Linked DNA regions of Homo sapiens: all the other regions are linked to region 1. The links are contacts of gene promoters, found by promoter capture Hi-C in blood cells and fetal thymus (Javierre and others, 2016). All regions are on one chromosome and are shown on one strand. The core of a region is centred on a gene start or on the middle of the fragment in contact, and the rest is flanking DNA. Distances in the headings are between cores, read along the strand shown. Region 1 holds the start of TRMT5 (tRNA methyltransferase 5). Region 2 overlaps SNAPC1 (small nuclear RNA activating complex polypeptide 1). Region 3 overlaps LOC101927702 (a long non-coding RNA gene). Region 4 has its middle 3.9 kb from the start of LINC02322.

Region 1 (4,755 bases), core at 1,387-3,886:
TGCTTCATGTATCTGAACTCAACTTTTAAGGTACAGAATTTAGTTTGAAATGAGGAATGAAATTTATAAATTTTTAAAAACTATTCTGAAGGTCTATAGTAAAAGCTTTAAAATTACTACTGTATGAAAATGTTTCACTTTTAATGTATGAGTGCCTCTATGAAAGAAAGTTTATAAAATAGGAATGCCAGAGGAATGTTTGAGTTAGGGTAGGCAGTGACTCACAGGAAAGCCTAGACTTGACATTTGTACCCAGTCACAATTACAAGGATCTGCTTAAGTATTTATGTTACCACTATCCATTATTACTCCCTTCATCAATAAAAACAAAAGAAATGTGTAACAGGACAGTATGGTGCTTGACATATAGAAGAGGCTCAATTGGTTGAATCAATGAAAGCATAAGTAAACATCTTGCACTTTTGACTATAAAGTACCCAAATTTATGAAACCTAGTATTTAACATAGCCCTGAAGGCCTAACAAGTCTTGTGTACCAAAAAGATCTCTCCTCAATGTAGCTGCCAAAGCATGTGATTCAAGTTTAATCTACACTGATGTATTGTTGTACACAAAAGCCTGGACCAGTATTTGGAACTTGCTATGACTAAAGAAGATATTTCAAAATGGCCCTCAAAAGAGGGTATGTAGCTCAAGATCTAGCTTAAAGTTAACATGATAAAATGTTCTGCCTCTGTAACTTGGCATTAAAAAAAATAATTTTTAAAGCTAAAATTAACAATTTGCAAATTCCCTTCAAATACATGAATATTACTATGACACACGTACCAATTAAATGTTTGAAAGGCAGCTGATGATCTCGAAGGTTTAGGTGTGCAATATGTCCAATCCTGCTAAACCCTGAAGTTACATCTTGACCTTCAGGAAGCACAGCTCTCAAGATTTCTTCTGACTTAAAGTGTTCATATGTTAGTTCCAAATTGTATTTAGAGATCTGTGGACTGACATTAAGCTGCTCTAAAACACTGAGTTCTGCTTTCTCAAAGGAATCATGAGTAAATATTTTATAGGGATCCAACATGATTAGTCTACTTTCTTTATCTTCCGGATCTTCAATCACACGTCTTATGCCTGGGCGCTGCAATGCTGCCCTTTTTAGGGATCGCATCAATTTACTGACTATTTCTTTCCTCACTTTAAGCACTGGAATGTTGACTGTCTTTTTAAAAGCTGTTCTATCAAGTTTTGTCATGCCTCGGACATCAGAAGGTGGTGAAAACAATTCAGTCTCTCTCTCATGTGTTTCTGTTTCTGGCATGGTTGAGAATCTTTTTCTTTGACCCAATAAGAAAATACCAGGTGCTTCCAAAAGCATCTGTGTCAGGGATGTCCAAGCTACTGGAATCAACGATTTTGATTCAGTTATGCTATGGCTTTCCAGTTTCAGAAATCTTCCTGAGAATCCAAATGGCCTCCATAAGATCCTTAAAAAAAAAAAAAAAAAATTCACACACGACAGCTTTTGAGAATAAAAATCTAAATTCTACTATCTCAAATAACGGGCTAAATGCTGACAAATAAAACGTTTAGTGATGTGTGGGAAGTATACTATCTTTTCCAGACTAGGATGACTTCTTCAGGAAGTCGTATTAGTGGTAGATAATAGTGGTATATATTAAATTTACACCTTCAACCCATCTGCTCCCAGTTCAGAGGGCTTAGTGATCCATTAGCCATACTCAATGATCCTCTTCACCCACAATTTTCTAGATAATACATTTGGGATTGGAAGACTGAAGTATGAGTTAAATGGTCATCTGTAAATGAAATAGTCATTATACATGACCATTACTAGTGGTGATATTTATTAGGATAGTCTCATGGGTGCTTATTGTGTCAGATACTGCGCTAAATGCTTTATGTACATTATGAATCTTGGGAGGTGTGCAGTATTGCACCCTCATTTTGTAAATAAGTAAACTAAAGCTCAGACGTAAGGTAACCCACCCAAAGTCTCCCAGCTGATAAGTGGCTAAACATGGATTAAAACCTAGTTTTGACTGACTTCGGTGCTTGTGTTCTTAATATATTGCTCTGTTGTTTGTTTTCGATGCTTTACTGCCACATGTCCTGCCTTTAACTAGAGGCTTCTGTATTTTGAGGACGAGAGCTTTGCTGATTGTTATATGCATAGTATCAGTTATTCACTGTCTTCTAAAATACCAAAGAATTTACTTGTAAGGGGAAAGGGCCCTGTCCCAGAATCCTGTAAAGCAACGAAGTCTAACTTCACCGTCAGAGATCAAATTGGTTCTAGCAGCTGACCAGCTGGGTGACCCTGGATAAATTACTATAAGTCTCGGTTTTCCCACCAGTAAAATGTGGCGAAAGGCTTTTGAAACATTCCTTACTATCCAGAACCTCGAAACTAAGCTCAGCACCTAGGCGGGTGGGTGACCTCGCGATGTTTCTGTGCCCAGGCAGCACATGGCAGAGAGCAGCCCTGGGCGGGCTGGTACCTCCCCTGGACCATTAGCCCCTAACGCGGCCGCCACCTCACCAAAGCACCATTCCAATTCCCCACGTCGCTCTGCAGCTGGATCCGCGAGCCGACCCCTCACCTCCCGCTCCGGTACCGATCGGATGTGGGTCGCGGGTGGATGGGCGGGTCTTCTATGACATCATCACTGTTCGCCGCGAAGAGGGCGCGCGTCATCAGATCAAGTCGACTCGCTCCTCTCCTTCCAGGCCCTGGTGAAGTACGGAATGCCGGAAGGGCCGGGCTCAAAGCTCCGCCTCTGGCGCGACCGACGACTGGAGCGCAGGGCAGGGGTAGAGGCTCGTAGATGGAACTGGTAGTCAGCTGGAGAGCAGCATGGAGGCGTCCTGGGGGAGCTTCAACGCTGAGCGGGGCTGGTATGTCTCTGTCCAGCAGCCTGAAGAAGCGGAGGCCGAAGAGTTGAGTCCGTTGCTAAGCAACGTAAGTGGGCTGTGTTCGCTTCCCCGCGCTGACGCCCTCCGGCTTCCCTCAAGTGCCTGCCAAATAAGACCCAGAAAAGGAGGACCGCACCGGGACAGGGGAGATGCTGGAGCCTGAACCCTGGGGGATGGGGTCTGAAGGCAGCCGCCGAGATTCAGATGAGATTGGCGCAGTTATGAACGTGATAGCAGCCTAGCATACTCTAGAAAGAAAAGATGAAAAGCGTCGGGTGGAAGAGATGCAGCGTTGAGTGGAAGCTGCGAACATGATGGGATGAGCGGCCCTAGGATTATGTACTCACTGCTGTTAGTTAGTATTTTTGTCACCTTATTTTCTCCACCAGTCTCGTGAGGTCTTTGCAAGAGTCACAGGATTTTCCTCTTCCGACTTAGTCATGGGGGGAGGGAAAATAATAAACATTTTAATACAGAAATTCTTAGCGGTAGAATGGAAGTGGCTTGGTAGTAAGTGCATAGCACGTTCCTGACCCTAAAGCCTGTGCAGTGGGCACTCCGCTTTTTAACTCGAGTCCTAGACACTGTTCCCAGGACTTTGTTCCCGGTGCTGTTTGTGGGGAGGGGGATGTTTTCAGGGATACTGCCAGAACAACGTGAATTGCTTCTGTTTATAATATTGTCATTGCAAGATATTCCTGACCATCCTTCCAGTTTGGTAGAACTAATTCATTAGATATATAAGTAGAGATTAGTTGTGCAGTCCTAGTAATTGAGGAGAAACAACTGCCCACAGCAGTCCCAGGTTGACTCAGCAATTCTTTAGTAATCACATGAGCTGAGGCCTTATCCCTCCTCTCTCTCCCCACTCCATTCCCATCCTATCTTCATCTCTTGCAGTCACAAGGTTAGTCATGGCCCTTCCTGAACTCTGCCTGTCTTGTGTACTGGTGGAAATCATTTTCCTAAGAAACCCTAGATTCCTGGAGCTGCAGTAGTGGGAGGTGGGAAGGAAAGGAAAGGAAATTAGTGTTGGTTAAGCAACGAGTGTGTCATACAAACCCTGGTGGTTTGCAGCTTTTTTCCATAATCTTTCATTTATGGAATTTCTTTACGAAATTTTAACTTCACCGTCCAAACATTTAACACTACTAAATTTGTGTGCTTACAGGAACTTCACAGACAGCGATCCCCAGGTGTTTCATTTGGTTTATCAGTGTTTAATTTGATGAATGCCATCATGGGAAGTGGCATCCTTGGCTTAGCTTATGTTTTGGCTAATACCGGTGTCTTTGGATTTAGGTGAGTCTTCATATTTTAGCATCAAATTTTTTTTTCCATTTTGATAATATACGGAGAAGTAGAGAGATAGATTCCAGAAGCTGCTATTATACAATTTCTAGTTAGTTATTTCTGGGGTTTTAGCATTTTTCTTGTTATTCTTGTTGCTAGTGTGTACCTTGGAGGGCTACTACATAGCTTCTTAAATACACAGAAGTGTGACTAGTTTTTAAAAATGGGAACTTGATCCACATTTCATTTATAATGAAATATGACACTTAAGAGTGGCATATTCATTGTATCTCCTTGGCCAAAGTGAATCAAAGCCATGCAGATTAACTTCCAAATAGCAATTTTGTGAGTGCAAATACAACACATAATCTTTTCATTCCTCGCTGTCTCTTTGTATTGTTAAGTAGTCTTATTTCACTTTCAGAGGCCAGACATGTGTTTTGTGCCTGTTCTTTTTTATGTTTCAGGACTTAGCTTGTAGGCCAGTTTGCCCAAAATAGAAGACAATCCTGGATATTCTGTGCTTTCATAGTACTTTGTATATTCATTCTGTTATTATAATTGTTAC
Region 2 (4,755 bases), core at 999-3,498, 790 kb after region 1:
AGTAGAGACGGGATTTCACCATGTTGGCCAGGCTGGTCAAATGTTCATTATTACTACCGTTTTAAAATTTTCCTTTGACTAGACTGACCTCTGTGAGGACAGTGACTGGATGAATCTATTTTTATTACCATAGTACATATAATATTAAAAAGGCGAAATAACTGATTTTCTGAATGAGTTAAACCTTATGATTAAAACTTTTTCTGAACAAAATGTAAAAACTCATTTTCTCTCTGTCAGTGTAAGCAAATTACCTTTGTAGTTTTTTAAATTGCAAGGAATGGAGGATGAAGAGCTGTTTGTTGTACAGTTAATAAAAGGAGAGAGACTTTTTTTTTTAAATGGCTACTACATGCCATTTATTTATAGCTTTATTTATTGCATAAGACAGTTATAAAAAGCAGGTATAATTATCCTTGTTTTATAGATGAGGAAATTAAGGCTTAAAGAGGTTAAGTAATTTCTCCACCATTACAAAGATAGTGGATTGTAGAGCAGATGTTGGAAACTATGTATCTGCCTGTTTCTAAAATCCGTTAATATTCCACTGTACCACTTCTTGGGGGGAAAAATGCATTTAAGGAAAAAGCTAAAAATGTAACATTTACATTTTCTAGTAGGGAGAACCTAAAATGATAAAAGAAGCAGGAATCACTAGAGTGGTGGATTTTCTTGAGAAATTACTTTGGTTACCGTAACTAGAGTAGGCATTTTGTATTCTTTTCCTATATTTATTATTTGAAGACCCAAAATGTCCTCCTACTACCCCCTTCCCTTCCACCCCTGCATTGTAATCAGATATAATAGAGCCCGTGTTTATGGCTGCAGGGCAAATGTCTTTATTGTTTGTTGCTGGTTTTAAAGTAAAAGTTCTACATATTTATATTTGTATAGCGTATTAGTCACTCGCATCAACACTTTGAGACATTTATTTTAGCTAATGTTTTATTTAAAATCTGGCATTTTTTATCTACTAATTTCAGGTCTTACATAGAAACCTATAATATGCACAAATGTGGCTTCATTGTTTTATCCAAAGTGGTAAGAAGACTGTTACATTGACTTTTTTAAGGCCTTGTTTTTTAAAATTTTTTGTTAACTTAGCACAGCAGAACAGTTTCAGATAGTTTATTCATTATGCTGTTTATATCCACAGAAAATATATGTGAACCTCGAAAATTTGAGACACGTCTCAGTTAATTTAGAAAGGTTATTTTGCCAAGGTTGAGGACGCACCCGTGACACAGCCTCAGGAAGTCGTGTTGACATGCGCCCAAGGTGGTCAGGGCACAGCTTGGTTTTGTACATTTAGGGAGACATGAGACATCAATCAATATATGCAAGAAGTACGTTGGTTCGTTCTGGAAAGGCGGGACAACTTGAAGCAAAGGCAGGAAGACTGGAAGTGGGGAGGGAGCTTTCAGGTCACAGATTGGTGATACACAAATGCTTGCGTTCTTTTGAGTTTCTGATTAGCTTTTCCAAAGGAGGCAAATCAGATATGCATCTATCTCAGTGAGCCGAGAAGTCACTTTGAATAGAATGGGAGAGGTTTGCCCTAAGCAGTTTCCAGCTTGAGTTTTCCTTAGTGATCTTGGGTGCCCAAGATACTTTCCTTTCATGTACATTTCCTATGTTATTTCATTGATTGATTGCCAACAAAGCCTTGTTGCTCTCTTGGATGTTTGGACAAAGCTTTTGGTTGTATGCTGGAGTATGCTCTTCTCCCTTCCTCCTCCTTTCTTCTGATGAGCTTGCAGTGCTCTGGACAATTAGGAGTGCGGGTTACTTTGTGCTGTTTCTCTATCTTTTTCGCCTCGGCTTCGCAAGGACAGAGGAGATTTAGTGCAAATCCCTGAGAGTATTGGAGAAAATGTTCGTTAGGTAAAAAGTAAAGTAGAGGTTCTGCTTCAAAGAGTTTCCTCCCCATCTAATTAAGACTAAATAGTAACTTATCTTAGAAGCAAAATTTATTCAAAGACCTATGCTAACATTCTTAAATATCTGCTAGCTGTAATAAAGAAATCAGTGTATTTTATGTTCTTAGCTCCCACAATTTAGCCTAAATATTTGCCCTGGCGTGCTTATACTGGTCCAAGCAAGCATTAAGTCATAGCCTGTTCTTCTTCCTTATTTAAAAGTGTTTTTACCTTTCTCAGCATTCCACAAGTTACTTCAAGTTCTAAGTTGCTAGTCAATGAAGACAGATACAGAATGTGAAGTCCCGTTCCAGCCAATAGAAACCGGACACAGCAGTAAAGTAGATGTGTCAAGTTATAAATGACCCTGTCTCCTTTGTTCAGTGTAGCAAAACTGCTGGCGACTGTACCCTTTTGTGCAGAAAGTAAAAAAATGGCCTTGCTGAAGAAATAAAATTTACGTTCAAGTGATACTTCTTTATAGCACCAAAGAACAAGCATTTTTGGCAATTGTATATTAAAATGCACATAGTTCTGTAACATAACCATGATTATTTTAACATTATGGGTTTTAAATATTTAACCAATAGTAATTTGAAACCCCTTCCTTCTTGCTCTTCAATTTGGCAAGTAAAGTTGATGCTTTTGGAAGCTGCGTCATGTTTACCTAGTAGTTGCCTTTGCCTTGGTGTAAAATTATCTCTTTGTGCTTGAATCATGAAAGAATCAGGTATGGAATCCTCATCAAATTATAACTACCGTTTAAACAAGTATATACTTTTGGCTTTTGTTCATTACTTATTCACTTAATGAGTCGTAATATATTTTCTCTCTGTTTATTAGTGGCAGAATGAGAAATTTAGAAAAGAACATGTTTACAAAAGAAGCTTTAGCTTTGGCTTGGCGATATTTTTTACCTCCATACACCTTCCAGATCAGAGTTGGTGCTTTGTATCTGCTATATGGATTATATAATACCCAACTGTGTCAACCAAAACAAAAGGTAATACTTAGTGAGTTATTTTTCCTTAGCAGAAATGTAAAACAAGTACCATATTTTTATAATAAATATTATATGATTAAATATGATTTAAATAAAATGCCAGTATTTTAAAATTATAATATGTTTGTGAAAAAATATTTACATTTAGTACAACTTTTTTTTCTTCCTGGTTGCAGATCAGAGTTGCCCTGAAGGATTGGGATGAAGTTTTAAAATTTCAGCAAGATTTAGTAAATGCACAGCATTTTGATGCAGCTTATATTTTTAGGAAGCTACGACTAGACAGAGCATTTCACTTTACAGCAATGCCCAAATTGGTATGTTGCCTAAAATAATTTGGTTTTTTCAAAATGAGCAATTATACTTTATTGTCCATAAAACCTCTCAATCTCCAGAAAATGGAATAAGTATTGATAGTGTTCAAGACTTTTAGCTTTTTTTTTTTTTAGACAGAGTCTTGCTCTGTCGCCCAGGCTGGAGTGCAGTGGCACCATCTCGGCTGACTGCAACCTCCGCCTCCCGGGTTCGAGGGATTTTCCTGCCTCAGCCTTCTGAGTAGCTGGGACTACAGGCATGCGCCACCACACCAAGCTAATTTTTGTATTTTTAGTAGAGACAAGGTTTCACCATGTTGTCCAGGATGGTCTTGATCTCTTGACCTCGTGATCCACTCACCTTGGCCTACCAAAGTGTTGGGATTACAGGCGTGAGCCACTGCGCCCGGCCTGGCTTGTAACTTTTTTTGTGTGTGTGTGCCTTTTTGATACAGAGTCTTGCCCTGTCGCCCAGGCTGGAGTACAGTGGTGCTATCTCAGCTCACTGCAACCTCCGCCTCCAGGGTTCAGGCAATTCTCCTGTCTCAGTCTCCTGAGTAGCTGGGACTACAGGCGCCCTCCACCACGCCTAGCTAATTTTTGTATTTTTAGTAGAGATGGGGTTTCACCATATTGGTCAGGCTGGTCTTGAACTCCTGACCTCAGGTGATCCACCCGCCTCAGCCTCCCAAAGTGCTGCTCACCTCAGGTGAGCCACCATGCCCGGCCTTGTAGCTTTTTTAAAATAGGAGAAGGTATTTTCTAATTACTACTTTTTTTTCTGCAAGCAAAAATTTAGCCTTTGCTTTTTAAATGCAGTGTATCTGGGTGCCACATATTAAGCGAACTGTTTTGAGAACAAATTAGATTTGGCATCTGCATTTGCTCATGTCTCAAACATCAGAGGAGGTTACTGAAAGACGTACAAAATTGTTAAAAATTCTTTGGTGAAAAGTTGAAACTTCTAATAGCATTTGTTTTTTTTTAATCTAGTGGTAATTGAGACACTAGGTTGAAGAGCACTAGTTCTGGTTCTGCCATTAGCTGGCAAATTATGTAATTTCTGTCTTATCTGAATTTGTAGGCATGTGGCATGGCATGTGAGAGGATACTTCACAAGTCTAACAGTCTTTGGAACGTGGATATTTAACAGATGTACCCTTACAGCTGGTTTTGTTTTATCTGTGTTTACTTATAGACAATTTTTAGTGCTGGCTTATATTTCAATACTTTTAACAATACTGTTTAAAAGATACTCATTTAAAAAGACACGTATTATCACATAGCTGTCATATAGGATGAAGAAAAAAATTCACCGAGCTGAAGTTACAGAAGAATTTAAGGACCCAAGTGATCGTGTGATGAAACTTATCACTTCTGATGTATTAGAGGTAAATTTTCTTTTATGCTCTTGAAAATTTTTAAAAATTGTTTTATTGCCAACTACATATTGAGGTTATACCTTCATCTACTGGATACTGATTTTTCTAATGATTTTAACCACTCTAGGATGCTATTT
Region 3 (4,755 bases), core at 772-3,271, 740 kb before region 1:
TTATAAGTGGGAACATGCAGTGCTTGGTTTTCTGTTCCTGCGTTAGTGTGCTGAGGATGACAGCTTCCAGCTCCATTCCAGAGTCTACGAAGAACTTAAACAAATATACAAGAAAAAAAAATTTTAAAGTGAGCAAAGGGCATGAACATTTTCTTATGTATGTACACATTATTGGGTCAGGCAACGTGGTAGGTGCATTGTGTACAGGATGTCATTTATTTCTGCAAGGTAGTTGATATACCCTGTTCCAGAAGAGGAAACCAAGTCTGAGAGAGGTTAAATAACTAGTCTACAGCCTAGGCAAAAGAGAGATGATCTTTGAACTCCAATTCGTGCAGTGGTCAAGGGGTATCCTCTTTGATTGCAACATGTTTAGAATGTTTTAAGGTTATTATTTTTCTGAATGCCTTCAAATGTGACAAGTATGCTCTACTGATCCCCATTGTGTCAGACCCAGCCTGATCTAACATTTATATTACCAGCCTGGTCCCAGTCAAAGGAGCTGGAGTTTTCAGATTCTGGTGCTAACCTGAATTCTACCTACCACTTCTTTACAAAGAGGCCTCTGCCGTGTTTGTACCAGCGGCAGGATGACTTGAAGCTCTCCATGGACATGCGGTGGGGGTGGAGGTGTTGATGGATATTGTCTTGGCTTTTGCCTTATGTGGGATTTTTAAGAAATGTGCAGGAAAAAAAAAACAGGAAAGTGTATTAGGAGAAGGCAGGATAGAAGTTTTCCTCACGTGGAGAGAGCAGGAGAATGGAGGAAGTGACTGCTGGAAGCAAAACTCTAAGAAAAAACCAATTTTACTTGGAGCTTAAAAAAGATTTTGCTGTGTAATGTGCATTGTAACTCTTCTCCCATCTCCCCAAGGCATCTTTGGTAAAGATGTCATTGTTGGGCTTTTTGTTTTCCATGGCACAATGCACTGAAAGGGCCTCAAGGGGAAAGCAAGTCATCTCTGGAAAGCTTAGCCAGAATTTGCAACAGAAAGAGTGGGAATTTTGGAATCAGGTCCTAGGCTTGCAAAAGAGCTCTTTTTCACAGCCTTAGCTTCCTCCTTTGTAAAATGGAAAAAAAAATAGTTTCTTTTTTGCAAAGTTGTTGTGAGAATTAAATAACACTCATGAGGGGCATTGTATGGAGCTTGGCACATTCTAGGCCCTCTTTTTATATTGAACTAATATGATCTTCTCTGTAATTCCCATGAATTAATTCCAGTTCTATTTTGCAAAACATTGATTCTTTAACCTTTTTCATGTAATGGTGCTCCAGTTTGTCTAGATCCTTCAAGAAGAGAAAATGCATATCAACATCTTTGTATCTAGTTGCTCTCAAGCTTAAAATGATGTCATTTTTCAATTATTGCTTTTATTATACAGTAAAAACATATTTAGAAGAGACTCAAGATAAATATTAAAAGTTAAGCTAGTTACTGAACAAATTTCTTAAATATTTACGAAAAATAAGATCAACACACATTTGACCATGGCAGCTTTTCTAAAGGCAAAGGATCTAATTTGGTGATTAACTAACCATATTGAGCACTCATTAGGTGTCAGGGATGTACCAGTTCTTCTACTGTATTTGGGTGTTTTTAATTATGAATAACCAAATACAAAAATCAAAGTAGTTTAAACAATGAGGAGCATTTATTATCACTCTTAAAAATAAATTCCCAAGGTGGGCAATTGCACGGATGGCTCAATGGCTTTACAATGTGAAAGATCCAGCCACTTGCTATCAATTCTTTTCTCTACATTGCCTTGGTTCTTTGCAAGATAACCTTGAAATTCCAGGCTCACATATAGAAATAACAACATATGGCTGAGGAAGGCATTTTCTCTCCTGTGATTCTTCTTATTAGGGAAGAAAACCTCTCTACCCCCTCAAGACTTCTCAATTTCCTTTATCCAGAATTGGGCTACCTCACTATGTCCCCAGGCAGTGCTTCTCAATTTTTTCACACCATGACACAAATACAAAGATAACGTTTTTGTGACACAGAGGGGTACCTGGGTAATGTTGCTTGTGGCCAGTCATACCATCCCAGGGCTTCAGCAGCTCAGCCTCACTTGAATGTCCCAAGGGCTTAAGGGATCCATACCTTATCACATCTATGACCCATCTGAGACATACCAGGGTATGCTGGCACATAGATTGGTATGCTCTGCTCTAAGCTACAAGGGAGGGTGAGAGAGCATGCATCCATATACATGCTCTAGTGAGAGAAGGATCTGCCAACGAGGAGGCTCTGCCAAGTAGTAGGAAGTGGTGGGGCAACCAACCGCATCAGTCATCTTTTCAAGGGTGCCTTCATCTATTCTAATTTTCACAACACATTTTAGGAGGAAGTATTCTGTGGAGGATAAAACCAAGGCTTATAATTTAAATGACTTGCCTGAGGTCACAGAACCAGTGAGTGGTTCAATTGACACAGCAGATGCAGATCCAGGTGTGTGCTGGGAAATGTTTAACAACCACCTTTCCAAATGTAGTTCCAACATGGCTATTGGTTAATATTTTCATTTAAGATAAAAATAAAACAACAAAAATGTATGTTAGAGCTTATTAGTCAATGATGTGACTTCATTGCTAAATTGAATGTTTTTATGCTATTCACCATGTAACAGTTATAGACACGACATGTCTTTTACATTTAATCTGCATAAAACATTTTCTCTGTCACTTAAGCCTAGACCAAGCTTGTCCAACCCTGGGCCTGTGGGCCGCATACAGCCCAGGATGGCTTTGAATGCAGCCCAACACAAATTCGTAAACTTTCTTAAAATGTGAGATTTTGTGTGTGTGTGTGATTTTGTTTCGTTTTGTTTTGTATTAGCTCATCAGCTATCATTAGTGTTAGCGTATTTTATGTGTGGCCCAAGACTATTTTTCTTCTGCCAATGTGGCCGAGGGAAGCAAAAGATTGGACAACCCTGGTCTAGCCCACAACCAGCAAAGCAATAAGTGAAGCCCTCATCTGTGGTGTCCGCTGATCAAGCTACCAAAGAAAACTCACTAAATGTGGTATTGGGAAGAGATGTACAATTACATATAGGGAATTTCCACCATGCAGACACAATGCATGTAAATTGCCTAAAGAACAAAGACAATATTAAAATGTATTAACATAATTTGGAAGTGATGTTTTTATCACATACTACCTTTGTTTAAAATTTATTTCATTGGAAGTTTATCTAACTTAATTTTTATTTCTATTTTTATATTTATTTATTGATTGATTTTTGAGATGGAGTCTCACCTTGTCACCCAGGCTGGAGTGCAATGGCGCAATCTCAGCTCACTGCAACCTCTGCCTCCTGGGTTCAAGCAATTCTCCTGCCTCAGCCTCCCAAGTAGCTAGGATTACAGGCTCCCGACACCACACCTGGCTAATTTTTGTATTTTTAGTAGAGACGGGGTTTCACCATGTTGGCCAGGCTGATCTCAAACTCCTGATCTCAGGTGATCCACCCACCTCAGCCTCCCAAAGTGCTGGGAATATAGGCATGAGACACTGCACCCAGCCTATATCATTTAATTTTTAATAATGAGTATTTAACAAACAGCAGGCAAAATTTCTGAAAATTTAATAATCTGCTGTCATGAGCCAGTATAGGCCAGCTCTCCACACCACGGACTGGAACTAAGTTCAGCACTCTTTCCACTCCTGCTGCCTTTACTACCAGCATGTAAAAGCAATGATGCTCAGTATCGTACGGGGGACAAACCTGGGTACCCGTCATTAATTTCTGTGACCCTGGGTAGTTACTACCAGATGCTTAGTTTTCTCTTCTATAAAGGAGGAGATTAAGAGTCCTTGCCCTGTCTACCTGCAAGGGTTTTTGAGAGGATTAAACTGGTTAGTCTGTATGATAGTGCTTTGTAAACTGCAGAGTCAGGTTCAGATAAAAGGCTTTATGATGATGACAATTTCATTACTGTTTTCAACCAGGCCACCATTGTTAAGGATGCAGTGTGTCGCTGCTTTCAAAAGTATGGTTTAGTTTGAGATCTTCTGTAATGCCCAGGATAGACAGTAAACACCCAGAAGAATTGTTCTGAAGAAGCCCACTCAAATCTGTGCTAGTCTTTACTTAGCACAAATAGGTACCTATATTGGGATGAAAACTATTTATTTGAAGCTTATAATTCACTCTTTTCTAGCTGCTGCTGGATTGTCTGACGGGTCTTTCCTGGAGTTATGGAATACTTCTCAATTTCAATAGTTGAATAAAGGTGTTTTTTTTTCTGTCATGCAGGCTAGGGTGCAGGGGCATGATCTCGGCCCACTGCAACCTCCACCTCCTGAGTTCCAGTGATTCTCCTGCCTGCGATTCTCCTGCCTCAGCTTCCCAAGTAGCTGGGATTACAGGCGTGTGCCACCAGGTGTGGCTAATTTTGTATTTTCAGTAGAGACGGGGTTTCCCCATGTTGGCCAGGCTGGTCTTGAACTCCTGGCCTCAAGTGATCCACTCGCTTTGGCCTTCCAAAGTGCTGGGATTACAGGTGTGAGCCACTGCACCCAGACTATTTTTAATTTCAATTTTTAAAAAAGTTGCTTTGCTTTTTGCACCAGACCAACTCACCAAGTTATTTTCTATGGATTATACCCGTGCACATAATGTAGTTTCCTGATTATAAATTAAATATCCCTAATGTCCACGTTGAAACACTCTCGAAACTTAAATGACCATAAACTATTTGCCTTGAGTTTGCTGAACTTGTCTTTGGGCTGTAAGAAACTCTTT
Region 4 (4,755 bases), core at 1,689-4,188, 650 kb before region 1:
GACCAAATGTTACTAGCATAGATATAGCAGCTCTTACACCCCAGCTGCCACTGCACTTGATCATCTGCCCCATTACACATATGACAACTCTGTTTACTACTAAAGCTATCTTGAAGAAATGGAATTGTGAGAATAGGGATGGTAATGTTGTCCAGAAAAAGTTCTCTCTTTTAAGTTCTCCTATAAATACTTTCCAATTCAAGGAGATACTGTTCATTGTTAAATGTTTTCATCCAAAGCAGTGTTCCTCACCCTGGCTTCCGGTTTGCTTTTTCTTTTTCTTTTCTTTTCTCTCTTTTCTTTTCTTCTGTCTCTTTTCTTTTCTGTCCTTTCTTTCTTTTTTCTTTTCTTTTCCTTTCTTTCTTTCTTTTATTCTTTCTTTCCTTCTTTCTTTCTTTTTTCTTTCTTCCTGCCTTCCTGCCTGCCTTCTTTCCTTCCTTCCTTTCCTTCTTTTCTTTTCTTTTTTGACAGCATCTAACTCTGTTACCCAGGCTGGAGCGCAGTGGTGCATAGCTCACTGCAGCTGCAGTCTCAAACTGCTGGGCTCAAGTGATCCTCCTGGCTCAGCCTCCCAAGTAGCTGGGACTACAGGTGCACACCACCACACCTGGCTAATTTAAACTTTTTTTTTTTTTTTTTTTTAAAGACATGAGGTCTTGCTATGATTCCCAGGCTGGTCTCAAATGCCTGTCCTCAAGAATCCTCCCACTTTGGCCTCCCAAAGTGCTGAGATTATAAGCATGAGCCACTGCACCCGCACTTGGCTTGGTTTTCTTTTCATTGGCTTATGTGGTGGTTGGAGTTATCTCTTTTGCATGTTGACAGGTGTCATAAAGCCATAGGAGACTTTGAGATGGCCTGAAAATAAGATCATGGATTTTTCCTGGCAGAGAGTTTAGTTTACTTTCAAACCCCGCTAGCCTTTGCTACTCAAAGCCTGGTTCATAAAACCAGGGCTTTGACTTCACTTAGATGCTTCTTAGAATTGCAGAATCTCTTGCCCCACAGTCTTGCTCTCTCAGGCTGGAGTACAGTAGCACAATCTCAGCTCACTGCAACTTCCACCTCCTGAATTCAGGTGATTCTGGTGTCTCAGCCTCCCAAGTAGCTGGGATTATAGGCATGCACCATCATACCCAGCTACTTTTTGTATTTTTAGTAGAGACAGGTTTTTGCCATGTTGTCCAGGCTGATCTCAGACTCCTGGCCTCAAGTGATCTGCCCATCTTGGCCTCCCAGAATGCTTGGATTACAGGTGTGAGCCACTGCACCGGCCACAATCTGCATTTTAACAAACTTCCCAGGTGGTGCCAATGACATTAAAGTTGCAGCAGCACTGCTCAGGAGCTGTGCATTGGAATCACCTGGAGTACTTGAAAAACTATTGATGCTCAGGTCCCAACCACAAAGACTCCCCCAACTTAACTGGCATTGGGGTTTTAAAAAATTTCTCCAGGTCATTGTAACTAATGCACAAGGTGAGAACTTGTGCTCAAGAGACATTCTTTCTTCTTCCTCCACTTATTTCTACAATTGCTTTTCTCTTAAAGTAAAAATCTCAAGCTACAGTCAAAGTTCATTTCATGTCCATTTTATAGATAATGCCACACAATGTGAAGATTCATTCTGAATTTAAAAAATAACCTTTACAAATATCTTCTGAACCTTTGCCAAGGTCCCCACATCCCTCTTTTATTGTGAGGTCCAGAACTAGACACAGTCCTCCAGTACAGCCCTCAACATCACTGAACAGCAGCACAAGGGATGTTTGTATTCTTCTGAATGAAAGGTACTGTTATAAAGAAAGTCAGAACATTCGAAGGGGGTGGGGGCGGCTTTGATGGCCAAGCAAAAGATTTCCTCATGCCTACACTCAGTCTGGGAGTGAATGAGCCAGTTACATAAGGAGAAAATCCTCCTTCCTAGTGTTGAGCTTTCCTAATTGGAGGACTAAATGTGTCATTATTTAACTAAATAATTAATAAGCTTTCTTGTAATTCATGGATGACTAAACAGATAAACTCACCTGTACCAAACTTTCAGAGAGAGTTCCACTGATTTAATAAATTTGGTTCATGTCATCAGCATAAAAGTCATCTGAACCTTGAGCCTCAAAGACCAGTGACCTCCAAACTTGACAACTCAACTTATAAGAATCAACTCGGCTGCTTACTAAACATATATAGATGTCTGAGCAAAGGTATTTGTGGTTTTTAAAAAACTACATCAATTCTTCTCAAACTTTAATGGGGGTGGTGATGTGGTGAGGGCAGGTCTTGTAAAAAATTTAGACTCCCATCAACAGGTCTGAGTAGGGCCTGAGATTCTGCATTCCTAACGATCTCAAAAGTGATACCGTGCCGCTACTTCATGGACCACACTTTTAGTGGCAAGGCCCTAGACAATTTTGATAATCAGCCAGTTTGGGAACCAGAACTTGAGGCATCATAAATGTTACCTGAAATATGAAAAAGCTAATCTCCGCCTCAATGTTTATCAGCAGCTCAGGGTGCATCAGTGAGTGTTACACAGACGGATACAAAATGTGGGTGGGCAAATTTAATTTCAAACGGTGGAAGAAACCTTATTGAGAATGTTTAATTATGTTCATGCTCCGCTAATACGAGAATAGAGTGGACTCTTAAGTTCCTTTATTTCTCTAGTGATCTATTCTTTAGAGTTCACCAGCAAACACAAAGGCGGGAGGAACCGTTACTTTAAATTCATATTATTTTAGCTGATGTATCTGGAGCACAGTGATAAATTAATCATGACGTCTGGTCTGATTCACAATCATGTTCTAGCCTAATTTACACTTTGCATTTGCAGAACTGAAATGCGATGCATTAAAATGGTCACACACCACGGATTTTTCTCCTCGCTGCACCCATGGAGGGAGGCGCTGTCTCCGCCTTTTCCTGTAAGCACCTGCCCGGGGCCCAAGCCCACAGTGGATGGCTCGTCCAGCTCAGAGAGCGCCCAGGACGCAGTGAGGAAGCAGAATTGGGCGCTCAAGACTCAGACCCGGACTGATGAGCTAAGACTGCTTGCAAGAGGGAGTGGGAGTCGTTAAAAAAATATCCTCGTGGCTTAATGACCAAGGCGGGTTTATTCTCAAGGAAGGGGGAGCGGCGTGGTGGTGTTACTAAACATAACAGATGGCAGCTGTCTGCGGCTATATAGGGCGCGCTGACAAATCCCTCTGGATGGCCACGCGGCGCTGGGCTGCGGGGCCTGGGTGCACTTCGCGCCTGGCTCGGAGGGCGCCGCCTGCGGGAGGACCTCCGGGAGCCGAGCTGCCTCCCCGCAAACCCGGCCCGGGCCCACGCGGGCTCAGGGCGCCAGGCGGGGTGCGCCGAGGTGCAGCTCCCCGGCCCTAGGCTTCGCTGGGGTGGGGGTCGAGGCCTCTCCGCGGGTGGCTCCCTCCACCCTGCCGCCCCGCCTCGCGGCTGGGAGTTGCCCGGGAGCTGTGAATTCACTAGACCAGCATTCACCCAGGGCCTGCGGGGGCTGTGAAAGGATGGGAGGACTCGGCTCCCCAACCCACCTTTACAAAGCCGAAGTGTGGCTGGTGAGGTACCCGACACGCACACACTGCACCGTGATACTGAACCATGCCTGAGTGTGCATTTTGTGCGAAATGGGTCTTAGCCATGATTTCCATGTGGTGAACATCTTTTCCAAACCCCGGATTGAAACACGATTATCAGGTCAATAACATTTTTTCTATGATTTGGAGATTGATTCAGATGGGCAAAATCTTACAAAGTTAATAATCTTATAAAAATCTTACATAATAATCTTAAGTCGCTTTTAGAGAGACATTTAAAAAATATGTCTATTGAAAATAATAAAATTCAGTGAAATTGGACAGGACTGTGGCAGTTGGGGAAGCTTCCTGGAAGATCGGGCAGAAAGAGAGCTTGCCAGTTTGGGCTTGGGATGGGCAAAAACAGAGGGGATTGAGAGTTCTGGGGACTCAATAACGTACATCACTGTGATTTTCAAGCGGCAAATTTCTTTAGAAAGGTAAGGCCAGACAGACTAATGGGAACTGTCCAAGGAGAGGGAACAGAGGAACCCTCTGCACTTTTGGGGCTATGGTCTCTGAAATCGGCTGCAAGGACCACCACCTAGGGGTCGTGTGGTGCATGTCATGTGCTTGGCTTTCTGCAGCAGTGTTGGAGAGTTCCATGGGAAAAGCCTCCTCTCCCCACCCCTCATCATCTCCTCGACCCCTTTCTCAACAAATGTCAGGGACTAAGGCTTCCTTATTTTCTCCTCAATCACCTTGCAGTGCTTTTCACTGAAGGTGAGAAAGGTTGAGGTTCATTCATTCATTTAACAAATGTTTAAGAGCCTTCTATGTGCTAAGCCCAGGTGCTTGGAACCTGAACAAAACAGGTAAGAATCCCTGCCTGCGTGGAGTTTGCAAGAAGCAAGCTACATGGATAAAATCTGTGGACAGTGTCAGCCTGACAATGGGCTGCCTTTGTTTCCTGTAAATAGAATTATTCCTTTTGACTTAACAAGAATTCTGACACACTGAGGGTCCTCCATACATGTGAAGCTATCATTGTGATTATTCAGTAATTGCCAAGAAAAAGGCATACCTGATGGAGGAACCCTTATGTTTGAAAGAATAGAATAAAGTTTTAATTCCTTTTTTATGCATTTATCTGGTGGAGGGTGCTTTGGCCACATGCGAACCTTTCCCCAGTAACGTGGGTTTGTGTAAAGTAGGAGTTTGACTGT

What was found. The method cuts DNA at HindIII sites, captures the fragments that hold promoters and counts their contacts. A CHiCAGO score of 5 or more calls a contact.
Region 2: a fragment that was not itself captured here is called in contact with the fragment with the promoter of TRMT5 in region 1 in 1 of 17 cell types (fetal thymus); the score reaches 7.8 in fetal thymus.
Region 3: a contact is called between a fragment that was not itself captured here and the fragment with the promoter of TRMT5 in region 1, in 1 of 17 cell types (activated CD4 T cells). The highest score is 5.1, in activated CD4 T cells.
Region 4: a fragment that was not itself captured here is called in contact with the fragment with the promoter of TRMT5 in region 1 in 3 of 17 cell types (naive CD8 T cells, total B cells and total CD8 T cells); the score reaches 6.4 in naive CD8 T cells.

The regions. Positions count from the first base shown.
Region 1 is chr14:60,978,443-60,983,197 of GRCh38, forward strand. It overlaps TRMT5 (tRNA methyltransferase 5), which reads right to left and starts at 2,637. Exons shown (of 5, transcript NM_020810.3): 1 at 2,521-2,637; 2 at 789-1,444. The coding sequence starts at 2,531. SLC38A6 (solute carrier family 38 member 6) reads left to right here and starts at 2,803. Exons shown (of 16, transcript NM_153811.3): 1 at 2,803-2,940; 2 at 4,066-4,196. The coding sequence starts at 2,836. RefSeq lists an enhancer at 2,527-2,906. The HindIII fragment of the contact is 5,504 bases long and covers 104-4,755 here.
Region 2 is chr14:61,764,114-61,768,868 of GRCh38, forward strand. SNAPC1 (small nuclear RNA activating complex polypeptide 1) reads left to right here. Exons shown (of 10, transcript NM_003082.4): 2 at 2,763-2,922; 3 at 3,099-3,239; 4 at 4,523-4,627. Among named protein-coding and RNA genes, the nearest start is that of SNAPC1, 4.1 kb to the left of the region's middle. The HindIII fragment of the contact is 1,111 bases long and covers 1,694-2,804 here.
Region 3 is chr14:60,240,361-60,245,115 of GRCh38, forward strand. It overlaps LOC101927702 (a long non-coding RNA gene), which reads right to left. Exons shown (of 3, transcript NR_188027.1): 2 at 2,403-2,510; 3 at 1-94. Among named protein-coding and RNA genes, the nearest start is that of PPM1A, 6.5 kb to the right of the region's middle. The HindIII fragment of the contact is 1,366 bases long and covers 1,339-2,704 here.
Region 4 is chr14:60,324,687-60,329,441 of GRCh38, forward strand. No RefSeq gene overlaps it. Among named protein-coding and RNA genes, the nearest start is that of LINC02322, 3.9 kb to the left of the region's middle. RefSeq lists an enhancer at 3,063-3,122 and a silencer at 3,233-3,542. The HindIII fragment of the contact is 1,908 bases long and covers 1,985-3,892 here.